Linked DNA regions of Homo sapiens: regions 1, 3 and 4 are each linked to region 2. The links are contacts of gene promoters, found by promoter capture Hi-C in human tissues and cell types (Jung and others, 2019). All regions are on one chromosome and are shown on one strand. Each heading gives the region's core, a stretch centred on a gene start or on the middle of the fragment in contact. The rest is flanking DNA. Distances are from core to core; before and after follow the strand shown.

Region 1 (2,991 bases), core at 393-2,892, 200 kb before region 2:
TGACTCATCACCATGGTGGTTAGAAGTTAGTTCAAGACAGATTTGAGGCTCAAGGGTGCGATTAGGACCAAGGACACTCCGAGATGCTGCACGCCAATGGGCAGGCACCCAGCACACTCTGCAGGGCCTAGAGCTGCTGCCATGGCAGCTCTGCCAAGGGCCAGGCTGGGCCACCCTTCAAAGCTTCATAGCCAAGGAGGTGCCATCTGCTTCCTAGAATCCACAGACATTGTGTTTTTGTGGAAATCTCTCCTCCCTCCCTGCCACCCGCCCCAGCACCTCAGCCTTCTGCAAAGCCCCAGTGGAATGCAGAAGCAGAGGTCACCTGCTTCCCTCCCCATCTCCAGCCTGGTCATGCCTGACCTGCTTCTCCAGGGAATGAATCTTGCAGCCATCTTCTCCCCTGCCCCATCCTCCACAGCCCTCTCTTTTCAAGGGCCTTGGTGTGGCCTTCCCAGTGAAGCTTGTCTCCTCTCATCCATCACTTCCCTTTGGACCCAGAGAAGGTGCAATCCCCTGTCCGCTCTCAGGAGACCCTGGTCTCACACATCTAATTCCATCACATCCTCAACCTCATCCCTCTCTGCTATCCTGGAAGAGAGCCACAGCAGCTTCACCACAGCCCTTGCTGACTTTTCCCAACTGCCAGTGCACCCTTTACCACCTCCCTAACCCCCAACAGTTCTCTTCTTCCTGCATTGGGTGGGCCTTGGGTTGGACTTCAATTGGAACTATGGTTAATGGTATCAGGAGCGTAGGGTTACTGGTGTCACTACTGCAATTTTCTTCTCTCTGGTTCAACCTCTGCCTGACTTCTGGCATACAGAGTGCTGTCCACTCAGGCTGAGAAGTGAGGGCGGACATGGAGGCCTGGCCATGTTTGGAGAGATGGAGGCAGATGTGGATAAAAATACAGAGCTGACTGAAATTAGAGATAAAGCCTGCCTTCCTCAATGTTTCTGCCATTGGAGTTTCTGGCCCATATGACTGATGTAACCTCACCCACTCTTGCATCATATTAATGGCAGCAACAATCGTGACTGTAACTATTTCTTTTTTTGTTTTTAGTCTTTAATTTATTTACTGGAGACAGATTCTTGCTTTGTTCCCCAGGCTGGGGTGCAGTGGCACAGTCATAGCTCACTGTAACCTCAAACTTTTGGGCTCAAACAATTCTCCTGCCTCGGCCTTCCAAAGCTCTGGGATTAACAGTTGTGAGCCACCACCCTGGCCTATTCCTATTTTTCTTTTTCTTTTTTTTTTTGAAATGGAGTCTCACTCTGTCGCCCAGGCTGGAGTGCAGTAGCACGATCTCGGCTCACTGCAACATCCACCTCCCTGGTTCAAGCGATCCTCCTGCCTCAGCCTCCCGAGTAGCTGAGATTACAGGCATGCACCACCAAGCCTGGCTAATTTTTGTATTTTTAGTAGAGGCGGGGTTTCGCCATGTTTGCCAGGCTGGTCTCAAACTCCTGACTTCAAGTGATCCATCCGCCCCGGCCCCCCCACCCTAAGTACTGGGATTATAGAAATGAGCCACTGCACCCGTCTGCCTATTCTTATTTTTAACACTGGTTATTGCATACCTGCTCTGGCCCAGACGCTGTGCTTAGCTCTTTACATATATGATGTTAATCAATGAAACAGTTGACACATTATATAGAATTCCCTCTCCCCAGTAGAATTTTCTGTTACTTTCTCACCAATATGTTGCATCCCCTACTTCAAAATCCCAGGTCCATTCTAATTTCTTCCAAGAAACCAACCAACCCCAGTCTTTCTTTATCCCCTTGGCACTTGTGTACTTGGACAGACATTTAATTGACAATAAGAGCCTGGTGCAGTGGCTCACACCTGTAATTCCAGCACTTTGAGAGGCTGAGGTGGGCAGATCTCGAGCTCAGGAGTTCGAGACCAGCCTGGGCGACATGGCAAAACCCCATCTCTACAAAAAATATGAAAATCAGCTAGGCGTGGTAGCTTGAGCCTGTAATCCCAGCTACTTGAGAGGCTGAGGTGGGAGGATCATTTAAGCTCAGGAAATCAAGGCTGTAGTGAGCCTTGATCATACCACTGTGCTCCAGCCTGAGTGACACAGTGAGACCCTGTGTCAAAAAAAAAAAAAAAAAAGAGAGACAGTAGTACATGGCGATTGTCCCCATCATACCAAGCACCCCCAGGGGCCAGGATGAGGCCTCCTGCTTTCTCTAACGACACCCCACCCTGCACTATCCCCATCATTCACCTGAGGGGCCTGAGATACAAAAGAGCTCAGCACTGCCTAAATAGCTTAGAAAAAGCTGAGCAGAAGCAGCAAACACCTCACAACCCTAGACTGTAAAACAGATCCCAGCCTTGAGGGGCATCTTTTCACCCCATGATGGAAGCCGGACCCAGAGAGGAGAAGAGATCTACTCCAGGTTATACAGTGAGTTAATGGCAAAATTGAGCCCAGAGTCCCGGCCATCTAGGCATTGAAAAAAGTGAAAACTGGAGAGAGAGAAAGACAAATCTCAGTGGCACTGGAGACTCTCAGGGTTCCATGGCCCAGCCCTTCAATTTCCCCTCCTGCCTGCACAGCCCTCCCCTCCCCCTCCTGCCAAGCTGCCAAAGTCTCCATTTAGCTGGAGACAGCGGGCGGATGGGTGGGCGGGCCAGCTCCCAGAGCCTAGGGTAATTGCCTATAATGAAAGCTCCCACAGCCTTTGTTCCTGGGAGCAACTGTACGGTTGAGGTTGTGCTCAGAGGTCTGTGTGCACTTGGGAGCTGGTGCCCAGAGACCTCACCCTTCCTTCCTGCTACCACAACGGGCCCAGCAAGAGACCTGTCCTCCCGGGAGTCACTGTGATTGCAGCTGAGCCTACTCCTCCTTCTTTCCTGACCTACAAGCTGCCTGGACTACGAGCAAGCCCAAAGCCTGTGTGCCCCCTGAGCTACCAGGAATCAGTGACTTCAGCTTCAGAGGGAGCTCTTCCCTGTGTATATGTACAT
Region 2 (2,700 bases), core at 169-2,668:
TTGATAAGGGTTCCTGGGAACCATTTTGAAGGCACATAACCTGAACAGCTCACTAAAAAATACCTGTTTCTGTTTGCTCTAGAACCTCCCATTCCAACAACATTCTATCCTTTCTGCCACTACATGCTTGCCACTCTGCCCTGCATTTTTTTTAATTTTTATTTTTTTTTATAGACAGAGTCTGTATATCTTGCCCAGACTGGAATGCAGTAGCTATTCATAGGTGTGATGACAGCACACTACAGCCTGGAACTCCTGGGCTCAAGTGATCCTCCTGCCTTGGCTTACATCTTGCTTTTTCTTCTTTTTCTGAGACAAGATGTCACTCTGTCGCCCAGGCTGGAGTGCAATGGCGCAATCACTGCTCACTGCAGCCTCCTCCTCCTGGGCTCAAGTGATCTTCCCACCTCCACCTCCCGAACAGCCGGGACTACAGGGCGTACGCCACCACGCCTGGGCAATTTTTGTATTTTTTTGTAGAGACGAAGTCTCGCTATGTTGCCCAGGCTGTTCTCGAAATCCTGGGCTCAAGCGATCCTCCTGCCTCGGCCTCCCAAAGTGCTAGGATTAGAGGCGTGAGCCACTGCGCCTCGCCACACCCTGCATTTTTAACACCTCACTGGAGCGCTCATCCTCTCCACCTGCTCCGCTATTCAGGAGCGGCTCTGCACCGTAGGCCATTTCCCACGACCAGCTGCTGACAACCATATCATCAAACTGCTCTTGTTCTCGCACCCCTTAAATGTCCAGCCATAATTTCTCAGGGAAAAAAATTTATACATTTTCAACAAATAGGATTCATTCTCAAATAGTCACATACAACACTCACTCTGGAAGAAACTCCCTTTCACATGCCGGTGTCTCCCCTGCCCAGCCACTTCCCAGCTTTGAGGTTGGGCTCATCTAGGCTGGAAAACCAAGGGACTGGGCCGTGGTTTTCCCACTTCCACTTCCCAGTTTGCTTTAGTTTATTTTCCCCCCTCTTTGGATTCCTGAGGCTAAGATGAAGAGAGTCACTTGAGCCAACTTTTTTTCAGTGTTTGGGGGGAAAAGAATGTGGTTTAAAATAGGGGCTATTTGTGACCCAGACCTCTCTCCTTAAAGCCCTCTACATCTATTCCCATCCCGCCTCCTCTCTCCTAACACCTGAAAGATGCATGAATATAAAGTCATATATCATGAACTTTATTCCAAATGAGATTGCTAACTTACTGTGCAACTTTAGGAAAGCCCCTTAACCTGTCTGGGGCTCAGTTTTCACACAAATCCAGAGATCCTTGCAGAGAAAGGTGCAGTTCTCGTTCAGGCAGCAGGAGGCGCTGTCTCTGGAGGCTTAGATTCATTCCCCGCCCTCCGCCCGCTCCCGCCCGCCTCTGGTGCGCAGGCGCGGCTTCGCGGATTGGCCGCGCGCGGGGGCCGTCATTCGGTGGCGGGTCCCGGCCGCGGGGCTGGCGGGCTGAGGGGAGAAAAGATGGCGGCGGCGGCGGCAGCTGGTGCGGCCTCCGGGCTGCCGGGTCCAGTGGCACAAGGATTAAAGGAAGCGTTAGTGGATACGCTCACCGGGATCCTATCCCCAGTACAGGAGGTGCGGGCGGCTGCTGAAGAACAGATTAAGGTGCTGGAGGTGACGGAGGGTGAGTGAGGCGGGACCGTCACGAGGATGGCTCAGCCGCACAATCCGCTGACCGCAGCTCCGTACCGGCTGGGGACATGGGGAGCCTGAGCCAGTTGGAGATGTGGGCGCCGAGAAGTGGAGCAGGAAGCGAGAGATTGATGTCGCTGGTGGTTGTGAAAGTCCGAGAGAGGAGAGGCGCGCCTGAAGGATAGGGTCGGGGGAGGTGGAGCCTGGGAGTGGGGGAGGGAGGGTGGAGACTTGAAAAGATAGATGGAGCCTAGAATCTGCAGGGGACGGAGATGGAGCTAGACTTGGTGCTGTTGGAGGAAGTAGCGCGGTCGGGGAAATATTTTTTGAGTCCAGGACCAAAGTCTTTCGCTGTTCTCTTCACCAGCTGGATTGTACTGGGATAAGAGTAGGGGGAGCTATTAGTAGGAGTGGTGAAGGGTAGGGCCTCGAAAAGGCGGCTATCAAAGCTTAATAGATGTCATCAAACAAGTTTCTGCCTCTGAGTTATAAACCTAGCTAGTTGTTTGTACTCTTCGTGTTTTCCCAGAAATTAAATGCATATGCGATTGCTTCACTGTCCTGACCATACTTAACGTTTATTTTAAAAATAATTTGCCCTTATTAAATACCTTTGTGCATTTCTGTTTGGAGGAACTGATCATCCTTTGTTTTTGATTCTTTGTCTCCGTCCTCTATTGTGTGCTTTAAAGTGATGGAGAAGAAAATAAACCATTGGTTCGAGATTTTCTATCAATTTCCTGCCGCGTGAGCCTTTCACCGGGTCCAGTGTAGCTACCACAAAGAACAATTTAATCCAGAAACAGGAGGAGAAATCTTCTTGGTCTTTGTGTAAGAAATATATCTGGTCAGAGCTTCACTGGAACTCCAAATCCTCAGAATCTCCCAACTCAGGAATATTTCCACCACCACTTAAATACTTCATCAGAGATATGGGAAATTGTCCCATCACACACCCATCATATTCAAAACCTTCAGTTAGCTCTCCTACTGGACGTATTTCTATTGAAAAGAATTTAGAACAAATCTCTCTTAAATTTAGTTTACATTCTTTCACA
Region 3 (2,921 bases), core at 230-2,729, 180 kb before region 2:
TTGTTCCCCCTCCACCTCATCCCTGTCCCCTGGGTCCAGTTAGGAGGAAAGGAAGAAGGGCTTGGGAAACATCTTTTAAAAGCACTCTGCTGCTCTGCTTAACTCTGGCAGGCAAGGGACCCAGTGCAAAGCCTCCTCTTGATTCCCTAGGTTTGACACAGGCCTTTACAGTTCCAAAGCCCTTCTACCTGTGAAGCTGGTATTATAACCACTATAAAAGAAAACAGAACCAGAGGGGTTCAATGACTTTGACAAGGTCACATTGCTAATTGGAATAGAAACCCAGTTTCCTGATCTCAAGAGTTACTCCTTCCCCTACAAAGCCCTCAGCCCCCTCCCCAGTCAACGCTAGGCCCCTTCTCTCCAAGCCACCCGTGTCCTACCCCCATCCCCTACCTCCTGGGCTCAGGAGGGCAACCTTGAGCCTCAGAGACTGAAGTAGGGCGGGACTGGGAGTTTCCTGGGGGAAAACCAAAGACGGTTTGGGGTTGGGGGAGGGGAATGAGCACCCTGGATACCATTCCTCCACCCCTCTCCCGACATCTCTCTCAGGCCCACGGGCCCACTTTCCCTCCCGCATTCTGAGCCGCCCTCCCTCCGTCTCTTTTACCTGCACCTCCACACCTCCTCAACAGATCTTTATCCTGGACACGGCAGGGGGTCCCCGTGCCCTCCGAGAATCCAAGAACCCGCCCCGCTTCTACGCGGAAAGCTGGGAGAAAAACTGCTTTTCCTTTATTTCCCCCTACCCCCCACTCATCCGCCCCTGGAGCTCCGCTCGCAGATACCTCCCCCTCCCGAGCCAGAAATAGACACACTATCTCTCCCCCACCTCCCTCCCCGTGCGCACACTCGCTCCCCTCCTCCTGTTTGCTCCCCGCCTTCCCCTTCCCTCCTTCCTCTGCTCGGAGCTGCAGCCTGCAGCCTCGACTCGGGCTGGCTGGCTGGCTGAGTGCGGCCGGGGCGCTGCCCGGCAGTGCGGTGTCCACGGGACTGACAGGCAGGCAGGCCGCGGGCTGGGATCCGGACACCAAAGCAAAAGCACCGCTGGGCGCCGGAGGAGCCGCGGGGCTTCCATCCTTCCTTTGACTGATTTTTAAATTTTAATTTGTATTTTCCCCGCCGCCCCGCCCCTTTTCCTCCGACCCCGCCCTATCGCTCCCCGGCTTCCCTGCTCTTTCCTTTTTCCCGGCTTCCTTCCTCGCGTTTCTTTCCCCTGCGCCCTCGGCTTGCCTCTCTCCCTCCTCCCTCGCTCTCTCCCCCTTCTCTCCCCTTCTTCCTCGGTTTCTTCCGTCCTCTCTCTCCCCCTCCTCCTCCCCCGCCTCCTCCTCCTGCGCTCCCGCCCCCTGCCCCCTCCCCCCGTGCCTGCAGACGCGCGGATCGTCCATGCGCTCCTCGCGGGCAGAATGCTGGGCAGCAGCGTCAAGAGCGTGCAGCCCGAGGTGGAGCTGAGCAGCGGCGGCGGCGACGAGGGCGCGGACGAACCGCGGGGCGCCGGCAGGAAGGCGGCAGCGGCGGACGGCAGAGGCATGCTGCCCAAGCGCGCCAAGGCGCCCGGCGGCGGCGGCGGCATGGCCAAGGCCAGCGCGGCTGAGCTGAAGGTCTTCAAGTCCGGCAGCGTGGACAGCCGTGTCCCCGGCGGGCCGCCCGCCTCCAACCTGCGCAAGCAGAAGTCACTCACCAACCTCTCTTTTCTCACGGACTCCGAGAAAAAGCTGCAGCTTTATGAGCCCGAATGGAGCGACGATATGGCCAAGGCGCCCAAAGGCTTAGGCAAGGTGGGGTCCAAGGGCCGTGAAGCTCCGCTGATGTCCAAGACGCTGTCCAAGTCGGAGCACTCGCTCTTCCAGGCCAAGGGCAGCCCGGCGGGCGGCGCCAAGACCCCCCTGGCTCCGCTCGCGCCCAACCTGGGAAAGCCGAGCCGGATCCCTCGAGGACCCTATGCGGAGGTCAAGCCGCTCAGCAAGGCGCCTGAAGCGGCCGTGAGCGAAGATGGCAAATCGGACGACGAGCTGCTCTCCAGCAAGGCCAAGGCGCAAAAGAGCTCTGGGCCTGTCCCCTCTGCCAAGGGCCAGGAGGAGCGCGCCTTCCTCAAGGTGGACCCCGAGCTGGTGGTGACCGTGCTGGGAGACCTGGAGCAGCTGCTCTTCAGCCAGATGCTGGGTAAGTCCTGCCGCCCCGCCCCGCCCCGCCCCTGGCTTTCTCCTAACCAGCTGCTGGGGAAGGTGTGGGGAAAGCGAAGCCCCCTCCCCTTGCGCCTTCCCGGAGGGCCCTCCTGTTCACGATCAGGCTGTGATGGGCATTGCGCCCAGATGTGCTGAGCTGGCCCACCTCCAGATGCGCATGGCTCAAGTGTACCTTCTTAAAGACATTACAGGCGGGAACCCGGGCTCGACTCTGGCCTGCCCGAGGTGAGGCTGGACAATGGGATGGGGGGTGAGGGGGTTACAGGCTCTCAGAAATAGAGCCAGAATCCCAATATGGCAAAACCTGGGACTGGTGGAAACCTCCGTTGTGGTGTGGCCTGCGCTTGACAGGAGCATCCCGCATTGCAAGGGGAGCGTCCAGCGAGAGCCCGGATCTAGAGGACAGATGTGGGAGAGCAGATGTGAGGGCTGATTGGCCCCGGAACACAGCTGAGGCTCCACTTCCTCTGTGGATCCCGAGTGGGAGCGCAAGTCGGATTTCCCCGCGGTGTGAGGATTCTGGCTAAAAGAAGCGTCTAGGGCCGGGGGCGGGCGGGCTGCCAGCTGTGCGCATCTGGGCGCATGTCCGATACCTCAGCCCCGGCTCTGGCCCCAACCCCTACACCCGCAGGTCTTTTAGGGCGTGTCGAAAGCTCTGGGCGTTAGCGCCGAGACTCCTGTTTGACCGGGAAGCCTTTGCCCTGTGGCTAATGGAAGCCGAGCAGGCGGGAAGGG
Region 4 (2,760 bases), core at 251-2,750, 160 kb before region 2:
TCACTTCTTGAGGCAAACGGTATTACCGAGCCCAGGACCGTGCTGGATACTGTGGAGTTCTAGAAGAAGGGTAGAAGTGGTCCCTGCCTTCCGCGAGGGTATTATCTTCCCCAGGATATAACCAAGTGCTAAATCTCAGTGTGCCATCTCCCTGTATGACATTGATCCCTCTTCATATGTCCTTTTTACGGGCTGAACTGAGGAGCTCCAGATATGTTAAGGTGCTCCCTCTTCAAAGCCGACACCTCCCCTCCATACCTGCTTCCTGCCCCACCCCACCTACACATACCTCTGAGCAGGTATGAGACAGGTTAGAGTGGGCAAATGGAACTTTGTTGGACCAACAGGGAAAAATGTGGACACTGAGGCTAACAGTGCTACAGTATGACCTTGAGCAAGTCATTCTACCTCCTGGGGCCTCAATTTGCTCATCTCTCCTAAATAGAGAATAATATTTGCTCTACCCTTTCTAGCTCAAAAAGCTGTGCGGAGGACCAAATGAGATCATGAATGTGAAAACTCCTGCACTCCTAAGCGTTGGGTGGACGTCACTGGGAGATGCAGACCCTGGGCACGCTGGGTCTCTAGGCAGTGGGCATTTCTCACAGAATCTCCTAGCTATCTGGTCAGCAGACCTGGCCATAAGGGGCTCTGGTCTGGGAGTTCCCATGGGGAACCATGCCACTGGTCACAATACCGATGCTGGCTTCTATCTCTGGTGAGTAATGTCAGGCTGTCTCGAGGTTAAACCTTAAAAGAGAGGCTCCATTTCTCCACAAGGAGCAGGCCCAGCTTAGGGTAAAATGTCAGAGATATAAGACTCTCTCTGCCATCCTGATCCTCCGCATCCCGGCCTCTCTCCCACTCCCACTCTATCAGCAGTGTCCCGTCTCTCCTCTTTAGCCTGCCAAAGCTTTCCTCTCTCTTCTTCCTTCTCTACTTTCTCTCAGGACTGAACCAAGAACTCACTCACACTGAGGCCACTACTAACTGACAACAGCCTAAAGCACTGTATTTGAAACGTTTTTTCTCCCACCTTGATCCTCCAAGTCAGAAATACATTTTTCAGCAAACTCAGTACACACATACTGAGTCAAAAGTTTTATGAAACAATACTATGCACAATATATTTAAGTTTTTTGTATGTGTGATTTCTTGATTGTATTGTATGTGGTCTAATTTTTTTTCAATTGCTGGTTGCAATCCACTACATTGATTTCATGATCCACAAATGAGTTACAGCCTGCAATTTGAAAAGTCCCTGGCCTAAAAGAACCTTCTTTCTAAGCACAGAAAGTCCCTGGGAACTGGTTGTCAAGACAGTTTACCCAGATTTTGGATAATAGAGCAATTTCTTTGTGCCAGGCCCTGTTCTGGGTGCTTTATGTATAATAGTTCAGTGAACCCACACAGCCCTTCTATGAGGTAGATGTTATTGTGATCATCATTCACATTTTATGGGCCAGGAACCTGAGGCAAAGAAAGGTTAAGTTCCTTATCTAAGCTCTTACTGCTAGTAAGTGGCAGAACTCAAGACGCCGTGTGTTTAACCATTGGGCTCTGCTGCCTTTCAGGGTGTCATAGAAATAAGGTGGCTTTGCAGAGGGATATACATGATGCTCTAAGAAAGCCTATAAGAAGTCCCTGTGGTCAGAGCAGGACTCAGATGCTTCTGGAAGGCAAGCTTGGTTTGCATGTTGTAAAAAACCTGCCAAACAGACTGGGCTCTGAGAACTTACCGCCCAACAGACGCTCAAGCTCGACTGCCCTGTGGACGCACATAGACTGATGGCGATGCCAGTGGGGACGACTGAAGCCCTTGGGGTGCATGTTAGGCCCACATGTAGAACTCTGCCCACTGGCCAATCAGCAAGCAGTACCGAAGAAAAGCCTGACTCTGGTCTTTACAAAAAAAAATACTGCCGTTAATTTTAAACACACCTCTTTTTGCAGGCTAAATAGAAAAGTGAGCTTAATCTACACTCTTGCTGTTCTTTAATGAATTTATTGTTTTAGGCTCTGTGAGAATGCAATAAAAGTTAAAAATGTATTTCAGAACACAGTGCAAATGTGTCTCCGCATTTGATGGATTGCTTTTGAGTCCAACACTTCCGGCCCGTGGGCAGGCAGGCCCCACAGATGGGCCGCGGCATCTACGAGCAGAGCGAGAGTGCGTCTATAAGGGATGGTCGTGGGAGGCACACACTTATCAGATTTCATTTCTGTTCTCTTCTCTTGGCATAGTAGCTGGAGAGTGGTAAAATGGGAGATGGAGAGACAGTGAAACAGCTGAAGTAGCAGCCTCAATTATTTACAGACCAGATTGTCAGCCTCCCAAAAAATGAAAATTGACCTCACATCTCTCTTCTCCTTTTCACAGCTGGGAGGGTCAGGCACATTACTATTGGCCACTCTCAGCATTGGCCATTCTCACCTCCCCATCCCTCTGCATCCTCAGCTAAGCTCAATGCAGAAATTCAAACGCAAGGAACAGGCCCTGCCCTCAGAGAGCCCCCATTCTGATGTGGGAGAGAGGGCAGAAGAGTTCAAGACCCAGATCGTTAACAAGGGAAGGCACAGGCATAGGACAGAATGTATGTAGCCGTGGGCACTGTAAGGGGCATAGCAGTTGAATAGCAGCCTTGTCTAGAGCCTAGATGTGGAATATTGCCCAAGAGTTGCACTTTGTAAACTGAGTCTATAAATACCAAGAGAATGTCGAAGAGAAGCTATTGAAGCCAGGTAGAGTTAGGGAAGGAT

The links. Contacts are between HindIII fragments. The study calls those that stand out against the background at their distance.
Region 1: a contact is called between a fragment that was not itself captured here and the fragment with the promoter of IPO9 in region 2, in 1 of the 25 tissues and cell types used here (IMR-90 fibroblasts).
Region 3: a fragment that was not itself captured here is called in contact with the fragment with the promoter of IPO9 in region 2 in 1 of the 25 tissues and cell types used here (H1 embryonic stem cells).
Region 4: a fragment that was not itself captured here is called in contact with the fragment with the promoter of IPO9 in region 2 in 3 of the 25 tissues and cell types used here (H1 embryonic stem cells, pancreas and thymus).

What each region holds. Positions count from the first base shown.
Region 1 is chr1:201,626,027-201,629,017 of GRCh38, forward strand. All of the region lies in intron 3 of NAV1 (neuron navigator 1), which reads left to right. The region is part of intron 1 of LOC124904482 (a long non-coding RNA gene); the gene reads right to left. Among named protein-coding and RNA genes, the nearest start is that of NAV1, 88 kb to the left of the region's middle. RefSeq lists an enhancer at 2,411-2,912. The HindIII fragment of the contact is 6,549 bases long and covers 1-2,991 here.
Region 2 is chr1:201,827,739-201,830,438 of GRCh38, forward strand. IPO9 (importin 9) reads left to right here and starts at 1,419. Exons shown (of 24, transcript NM_018085.5): 1 at 1,419-1,634. The coding sequence starts at 1,472. IPO9-AS1 (IPO9 antisense RNA 1) reads right to left here and starts at 1,821. Exons shown (of 3, transcript NR_046696.1): 1 at 1,213-1,821. RefSeq lists enhancers at 18-532, 533-1,046, 1,203-1,497, 1,509-1,718 and a silencer at 1,219-1,458. The HindIII fragment of the contact is 5,409 bases long and covers 1-2,700 here.
Region 3 is chr1:201,647,263-201,650,183 of GRCh38, forward strand. NAV1 (neuron navigator 1) reads left to right here. Exons shown (of 34, transcript NM_001389617.1): 5 at 1,372-2,163. It overlaps LOC124904482 (a long non-coding RNA gene), which reads right to left and starts at 722. Exons shown (of 2, transcript XR_007066789.1): 1 at 1-722. The HindIII fragment of the contact is 4,666 bases long and covers 1-2,921 here.
Region 4 is chr1:201,671,120-201,673,879 of GRCh38, forward strand. The region is part of intron 5 of NAV1 (neuron navigator 1); the gene reads left to right. Among named protein-coding and RNA genes, the nearest start is that of MIR5191, 47 kb to the right of the region's middle. The HindIII fragment of the contact is 3,628 bases long and covers 1-2,760 here.